Regions from separate parts of the Homo sapiens genome. Here region 1 is linked to region 2. Evidence: promoter capture Hi-C in 16 types of primary human blood cells and fetal thymus (Javierre and others, 2016). All regions are on one chromosome and are shown on one strand. The core of a region is centred on a gene start or on the middle of the fragment in contact, and the rest is flanking DNA. Distances in the headings are between cores, read along the strand shown.

Region 1 (4,213 bases), core at 1,223-3,722, 460 kb after region 2:
ATTTCAATTAATAATAATAATATTAATAATTTGCAACAGTATATAAATATTAATGGTAAATTTTATTCTTTTTACACTATGTCTTTGAAATCTGGTGTGTATTCTATACTTACAGCACATTCATTTTGGACCAATTACATTTCAAGGGCTCAAGAGCTACATGTGGCTAGTTACCATGATAGAGAATGGAGGTTTATAGAGTTCACCTTTAACTTATCACAAGTAATATACCAATTTATGTAGAGTAGAAAGAAACCTTAAATAATATTCTTTCATTTTCCTCCTCCCAGCACTGGTGTGAGTGTTGTCATGTTTTACTTCTCTATATGTTATAAACCTGACAGTACATTGTTATCATCTTTTGCTTTAGTTATCTCTTAAAGAGATTTCAAAAATAAGAAAAATATCTTTTTACATATCCACATATTTACCATTTCCAGTATTCTTTATTCTTTTATGTAGATTCAGAATTTTTCTGCCTGAAGGCTTCCTTTAATAATTTTTGTGGTGCCATTCTACTGGTGATGAATTATTTCAGCTTTTGTATGTCTGAAAAAAAATCTTTATTTTCCCTTCATAATGAACAATATTTTTGCTGGAAATAACAATTCTAGGTTTATAGAATTATTTTTTCTTTTTCTTTCAGCATTTTAACCCTTTTCCTGTTTGCCCCAAGAATACATGCCTGTAGCTGCTGTGTTTACCCTGAGATAAATTTGCCACAAAATATCTCACTTTTATTATTTTTGCATCATTCTAGTACATTGACTTTGGAAACAAAGACATCATTCTACTTACAACATTCTGGGCCAGGTGAGGTGGCTCACACCTGTAATCCCAATACTTTGGGAGGCTAAGGCAGGCAGATCACTTGAGGTCAGGAGTTCGAGAACAGCCTAAAAATACAAAATTAGCCAGGCATGGTGGCACACACCTGTAATCCCAACTACTTGAGAGGCTGAGGCAGGAGAATTGTTTGAACCTGGGAGGCAGATATTGCAGTGAGCCGAGATCGCACCACTGCACTCCAGCTTGGGCAACAGAGAAAGACCCTGTCTCAAAAAAATAAAAAATAAATAAAATAATAACAGTATTACAATATTCTGTTTTTAGTACTGGTGTTTTGTATTTCCATTTACAAAACATAGTAATTCTCAATTGCTGAAAATGTCAAATCCTATAAAACACAGCATTTCTACGTGTGATGTTAACATCATTCTCAAACAGTTGTTGGCTGAAGATTGATTTGATGAATCCAATTTTTTCAAAACTGACAATACTGATGATTCAGACAATTCTGATGTTAGTTACGTTTAGAAATAACTCCAAGAGCAGTTTTTAGATTTTATTTTCACATTGAAAATCAGTCAGATTTGCTTCAGCCTCAAAAAGCATGTTTATGTAAAATTAAATGAGTGATGGCAGGCAACTGTAGTTTTTTTTCCTAAATGGGAAAAGGGTTAAAGATGTCACTCCATTGTTGCCCAGCTTACATTGTTTCTGGCAAGAAGTCTACTGTTCTTATGATTGTTCATCTATATCTAATTTGTACTTTTCCTCTGGTTGCTTTTAATATTTTCTCTTTATCATTAGTTTTGTCCAATGTAATAATGTGCACAGGTGTTGTTTTCATGAAGTTTTTTGTGTTTAGAATCTGTTGAACTTCTTCAATTTGTTTGTTTATGGTTTTCAACATATTTAAACAAATTTTGGCCATTTTTTCTTCAAATATATTCTTCAATTCTCCCTTCTTTCTTGTGAAAACTCCAATCACATGTACATTATGCCACATTGTTTTTCCACAACTCACTGAAGTTCTTTGTATTTTTGTTTCTTTGCTTCTCTGTGCCTTATTTTGCATAGTTTATTATTGATATGTTTTCAAGTTTAGGATATTTTGTTTTCCAGACTGTAATCTGCTATTAATCCTATCCAATATAATTTTTATTGCAGGTATTGCATTTTTCATCTCTATACATTTGTTTTTGGTCTTCTCATATATTCCATATTTCTTTTTAACATGTTTACACTTTCCTCTACTTTCTGGAACATATGGAATACAGTTATAATTACTGTTTGTCTATTAGTGGGTAATCTGTGCCACTTCTGCATCTGTTTTAATTGACTGATTTCCACCCCCACTTCCTCATTTAGATTTACATTTTCCTGCTTTAAGTGCCTAGTAATTTTTTAATTAGATGCCAGACATTGTAAATTTGACCCAGTTGGATTTTCTCATATTTCTATAAATACTGATCCTTTTAAGGTTTGCTCTTAAGCTTTTATAGACTGGGCCATTGCATGCTGTAGGGCTAATTTTGCTCCAGTTCTAAGGCAATATCATGAGTCTTCTACTTGTTGCTTTGTGAACAAAAACTATTTCTTGTCCTTTATGAGCTCTTGACATTATTCCCTTTTATTCTTTCCCCTGGTTGTTATCTTCCTCTGGTCTTGTGATAGTTTCCACATACACTTGCACTTACCAATACAGAGCTGGAGACTCAAGGACATTCTCTGCAGATTTCCAGAATTCTCTCTCTGTTCTGCTCTTTTTCTCTGGTACGCTGTCCTGTGAACTTCACCTGCCTTGGCCATTCCAGACTATGAACTCCATCTTCCTAACTTTAGAATACCAGGCAATGCCTGGGTTCTCCCTTTGTACACTGAAGCTTGGAAACTCTCACCAGTAAGTAATCTGGAGGCAACATTATGACTCACTTGTTTGTTTCACTATTCTTAAGGATCACTGTACTGTATTGCCTGATGTCTGATGCTTGAAAACCATTATTTCATTTATTTTGTATAGTTTTTGTTGTTACTGTTGTTTCAGAGAATAAATCTGAACCATGTTTCTTCATCTTGGCTAGACTCTAACTGTGTATTTGATAATTTTATTATTTTTAGAAATCTAAATGTACAGACTTACATTTATCTCTATAAATTGCATATTATCAACTTTGTCCTTTTAAAGTATCTTCTAATTTTGTCTTTTTTTAATTCATATGAAAAGTTAAGCATTATTTTTATATGTTTGTGACACAGATAAGATATGTAGTTTAGAATAAAACCACAGACAGAGTTCTGAGACCTTCTACTAGGGATCAACCTGAAGTTCTCAAACTATTAACAAGTGATCTTGGAGAAAAATGATCCAGAGTTGCAGAAATACTTCACATTAACCATATGGGAATTACTTGCTCCTTTCTTCCACAAAAGCAGTAAGAGAGCCTTTATCATTTTATTTGCCAAAGTTAAGATAGTCTGTATTTATGGCCTTCCCTTTTCTAAATATACAAACAATCAAAATCAGAACTTAGTATATTCTATATAGCCTGCTCTTAATGCATTTACATTGGCTTCTAGAGATCTTTGCTTCCAAACAGTTCGGTAATTGATCCCAGAAGGGGTCTAAAATTCTAAAATCTACATTGAGATTATAGAGATTAATAGCTTCCAAATTCTACCTTTTCCAAAAAGGTAACACTTGTCCATCCATTTCTGGCTTTCTATCATTGCTTCTACTTATTATGACTTTTCAGAGATTGCCAGCAATGTTTCTGGGATTATATTTGCACGTTTTTTTTCAATATCCTGCTTATTTTCTTCAGGATATTGTGGTATATTAACCAACTACGTGAGGCTCTCTCTATATAGCAGAGACTGAAAATGTATGGAGATATATATATATATATATATATATATTTTTTTTTTTTTTTTTTTTGAGACAGAGTTTCGCCCTTATTGCCCAGGCTGGAGTGCAATGGCGAGATCTTGGCTCACCACAACCTCTGCCTCCCAGTTTCAAGTGATTCTCCTGCCTCAGCCTTCCGTGTAGCTGGGATTACAGGCATGCACCAGCACGCCTGGCTAATTTTGTATTTTTAGTAGAGACGGGGTTTCTCCATGTTGGTCAGGCTGGTCTCGAACTCCTGACCTCAGGTGATCTGCCCCGCCTCAGCCTCCCAAAGTGCTAGGATTACAGGCATGAGCCACTGCACCCAACCTGGATACATTTAAAAAAAAATTATGGCCAGGTGTGATGGTAATCACAGACCATCACAATGCTTCCCTGCACTTTGGGAGGCCGAGGCAGGTGCATTGCTTGAGCTCAGGAGTTTGAGACCAGCCTGGGCAACATGGCAAAACCCTGTCTCTACAAAAAATACAACAATTAGTCGGGTGTTGTGGCATGAACCTGTAGTACTAGTTACTT
Region 2 (4,474 bases), core at 1,314-3,813:
CAAATACTTTACAACTGTGCTGTCCAATACAGTGGCTCCTGAGCACCTCAAATGTAGCTATTCAGAATTGGCATATGCGGCAAGTGTAAAATACATGTGGAATTTTGAAAACTTAGTACATAAAACAGACCATAAAATAGCTCTTCTATAATCTTTCTTACATTGACATATGCTAAAATAATATTCTGGATATATGTGACTTAAAAATACATTAAAATTTCACCTGTATTTTATTGTGTGTCTACTGAAAAAAATGGATATAGCTCACATTCTATTTCAAATGGACAATGCTAGTTTAAAAGGATGGCACTGGCTGGGGAGTAGTGCTAAAGTAATAATAAGTGGGACTGGATCGGGTGGAAGATAATATCACAAGAAGAATCTCTATGTCATTAATAAGTTGGTTGGAAACCAAGGCTCTTCAGTAGGGTTAATATTATCAGATCTGACATTTGCAAGGATCCATCTCCAATCTAAGAATTGGAGGGCAGGAAAGCTGGAGGAAGAATATCAATTGGTCTCGATAATCACTGACAGACAGTGTTTTGAAAGTAGTATAACTAGAGATACAGAGTACGGAACTGATTCCAGAAATGTTTTTCAAGTAAGATAAACTACACTTGGTGACAGATTAAATATGAAGTCTGAGAATAGAGAAGAACTTGAGTAAATTCCAAAGTTTTGGGCTTGCAAAATTAGGAGAATGTGGTATTCAAGCAGGACAGCTTTGGCAGGGAAAGGTGATGGGTTCAATATTGGACATACTGAGTTTGGGATGCCTATGGATAGGAAATTTATGTGGAAATACCAAAAATTAGCTACAAAAGTTTGACAGTAACTCAAAAGTTCCAGATCAGAAATAAAAAATTGGGAGAGTGTTAATAAAACACAAATAGTGTAAGCCAAAGGAGAGGAAGAACACAGCCAAGAACACAGAGTAAAAAATAGAAGACGGAAGACTGAAGACTGGATTATTGGGAAAAACAATAATGAAATATGGTGGGCCGAGGAAGAAGATCCCACAAAGGAGTTGAAGAATGACAGGCAGATGAAGAACCCAAGAGAAGGGTAGCATCTTTATTTAATGGGCTTCCATTGTGTCCTACAGAATTATAGTTCCACAATATGTGTAACGGAAGAGATGTGACTCACAAAAGAAGAAAAATCTCTTTTCCAAAGTCACAAACTACTTTTTGATATTTAAAATGATACTTTGTCAACTTAGAGAATCAAAACAAACTATTATTTCCTATAACTTATTTGGATAAACATACTAGCTAACATGGGAAATCACAAAGTGAAATATTTAAAATGGTAATATAGAATTTAAATGTGGAACAACTGGAAAAAAACATAGATTAAAATAACCATGCAAAAGAAAGAGGGAATGAGTAAAGAACTGGAAACATCGGTTTTACCATTCTAAAACACATATAGCCACTCCCTCTGCCAAAAACTAAATGATGACTTCTGATTGCAAAGATATCTCTAATGCAAGTTCTTAACGTGAAGATAAAGGAGGGGAATAAATATGTATGTGCCCAAGTATACTTTCCAAAGAACAAAGTGAACAAAAAAGGGGTTTATATCAGATGAACTGGACCAGGGCTCTTCACTGTTAAACACTATCCCACGGTCTATCTAACGTAAACATCACGTATCTGAGTACCGACTCCAACTCGAGTATGCCAAAAAGGCACTTTCTTTTTTCTTTTATTTCTAACCATCTTTACTCCTCTCATCCCATCCCTGAAGGATGTATAGAAGTATCACAGCCTGGACAAGTACGGCTTTCCACTCTAACCACAGTTTTAATAATAACACATCTATTATTATCCGAGAGCTACCAAAGCCTCCTTTTCCGTCTTGGCCCTTGGCCCTGCCCCTCCTCTCTAGTCTTGAGTCTCCACGGGCCTCCGGGGTTTTTGTTTTGTTTGTTTTAATAACAACCACTTCTCTAGATCCGCTTGCTCCCTTTCTTCTCTTCTCGGTCCCAGGAAGTAAATACCCTTTCCCAGCTCCTCTCCTCCTAACTTCCCAGTCCCCCCAGTGCCGGTCAACCTCCCTTCCTCGGGACCCTCTCAGAAGCCGAGCTCTTTACTCATTTTCCTAGGTCTTCCTTCTCCTCGCGGTCCCTACATCCTCCCCCATCCCTAATCCCTTCATCTTCCCTGCTTTAAGAACCACCCGCAGGCCCCCATCCACGAACGCCCCTTCACTAGCTACCAGACGCTTCAACCCAGCCTCACCTCGCACCTCCACCTCCCCCGCCGTCTCCACGCCCACTTCAAAGCCCACCTCCAACCCGCAGGCTCTTCAGCAGAGCCGATGCGGCGTCCCGCCTCCTTGCCTTCCCTCTTAGGACCAAACTCCCAGCTGGGGCCTCGGCGTCTGACCGCCAAAGAGCGGGTGCCTGGTTCCTGCGGAGGCTGCCGGGCGGGTGCCGAGGTTGCCGAGATGCGGGAGGTTTGAACACAAGGATGGGACAGAGGCGAGGATCGGGGCTCCTGGGTGGCAGCGGCGGTAACCTGGGCTCCAGGGTAACGGAGGCGGAGGCCTAGACTGCACTACGAAGAGACCGCAGCCAATCATGATGACTCTACCCGAGCTCCCATTGGCTTCTGTCTCCAGACGGCCCTTTTTATTGGCTTCAGTGGAACTGGAAGGCGGGACGGCGAGTGCGGGAGAAGGTCTCCATTGGCCGACCGCTCTAGCTGTAGCGGAGACCCCCAAGTAGGGAAATTGGGGCAAAACGCGGAGCGCTCCAGGCTCCTACGGGCTGTGCGGTGCCAGGGCTCGACTGCTGAGCGTCGTGGGCTCCGAGAGGGACGCGGGCGGAGGGCAAAGTGGGTTCATGATATGAATTGTAAAATTGGCGACTGCGTAATGTAAAACACTTAACAATTGCTTAGATTTCCTTTGGGAAATAACTTGCTTTTAAATTGTAAACAAATTACAAACAAACTGCTAGTGCTTCTGGATCTTCTTACCGAAATGGCTGATTCAGGAGGATGCGGGGTGAGTGCACTATTGTTCCTGCCTCGAGATCCTGGCTGTGAATCACCAACGAGCCGTGAGTTTGGCTTGAAAGTGATTTTTAGGTTTTGGAACGGGTTTGGGGTGGAATGGCATCTGAAATATTTGCACACAAGTTTTTTTTTTTTTTTTTTTTTTTTTTTTTTTTTTTTAAGGAACGTTTTGAGGAGCATGTCAGCCTATTGAGCGCTGATGTGTGACATATTTTCTCTTTTAGAAATGGCATTAATTGCGGGAGACAGGGAAGGTAAAAAAAAATCCTCTTTCGTGAGGGCTTTAAACTGCTCCGAGCCATCTGATTATCAAGGTGGTTTAACACTACTCTGGTGTTCTCACTATTGTTAATTTCTCACTGGCCTTTTTACCACCATTCTGTAGAGAATCTAATATTTGAAGGCAAATGCGTTTAATGAATCTTCTAACCATGAAGATTGGTAATTCCTGCTTCTCGCTCAACCTCGTTTTTCCACCTTTGCACTGTTTCAAAGCTTTCATTTTATCCTGTCAATACATTTTACTTCAAGTTACAGACTAACCCACCCAAACAATATTGTGATTAAATGTAATTTTCTGTATGCGAAATACATCTGTACAAGATGGCAGTCATCTGTTAGTGAAAATAAGATGAGTAATCCCTAAATTGCACGGAATTACTTTTCATCAATTCTTTAATCTGTCTCTGCTGACACTGTTAAAATAGCTCACTCGTTATTATGGACTCTGTTAGAATTAACATGTAAATGTATGGGTGGATTACTTATAAAGGAAGTTGCTAGGAAGAATCAGAAAACATACCGTATTTACGTGGACAAATGTCTGTCACAGGAGCGTCAGATCAGGATTGCTGAAGGAGAGCTGAGAATGAAACCACCATTTATTCAGCACTCAGAATGCTCCAGGCAGTGTAATCTCATTCCATCTTCATTCATGACTCCAGACAGGTATTGTTATTCATTGTTTATACTTGAGAAAGCAGATTCAGAGAAGTTAAAGTATCTACCACAAGGTACGAAAGTAGTAAGTAGTAATGCCAGAGTACAAGCCTAGGTCTGCTTCCAAATTTCGTGGTTTCGGATTTAGTGCCTTCATTGTGTTTCACCTACAGGTTAAGAAGTTGTTGGTAAGCAAGAAAATATTTAAGACGCTGGGAGAATCCAAAAAATTGTCTAGTTGTGTGTAACATAGTCTCAGGATTCTTACAGTGTGCAATTTTATTCACCCCCTCATATTCAAAATAACAGTATCAGTTTGACCTTGAAAAAAGACCAAAAAATGTATAAATTTACAGAAGTAAAAACTAGTTTATTGAATTACCATTTTAAAAGGTTACCCCAAAATATGAGAAAGCAGTTTTAAAAGTTTTATGACATTACATGGTTTTATATATTATTTTTGATAGGGCTAGAATTTTCTAAGATACCATTTGACATTTTATTTC

What was found. The method cuts DNA at HindIII sites, captures the fragments that hold promoters and counts their contacts. A CHiCAGO score of 5 or more calls a contact.
Region 1: a fragment that was not itself captured here is called in contact with the fragment with the promoter of LCA5 in region 2 in 1 of 17 cell types (total B cells); the score reaches 6.0 in total B cells.

The regions. Positions count from the first base shown.
Region 1 is chr6:79,996,435-80,000,647 of GRCh38, forward strand. No RefSeq gene overlaps it. Among named protein-coding and RNA genes, the nearest start is that of TTK, 6.1 kb to the right of the region's middle. The HindIII fragment of the contact is 390 bases long and covers 2,278-2,667 here.
Region 2 is chr6:79,534,867-79,539,340 of GRCh38, forward strand. It overlaps LCA5 (lebercilin LCA5), which reads right to left and starts at 2,564. Exons shown (of 8, transcript NM_001122769.3): 1 at 2,299-2,564. It also overlaps a transcript of SH3BGRL2 not described here. RefSeq lists enhancers at 2,460-3,033, 3,028-3,077, 3,608-4,181. The HindIII fragment of the contact is 3,782 bases long and covers 1-3,522 here.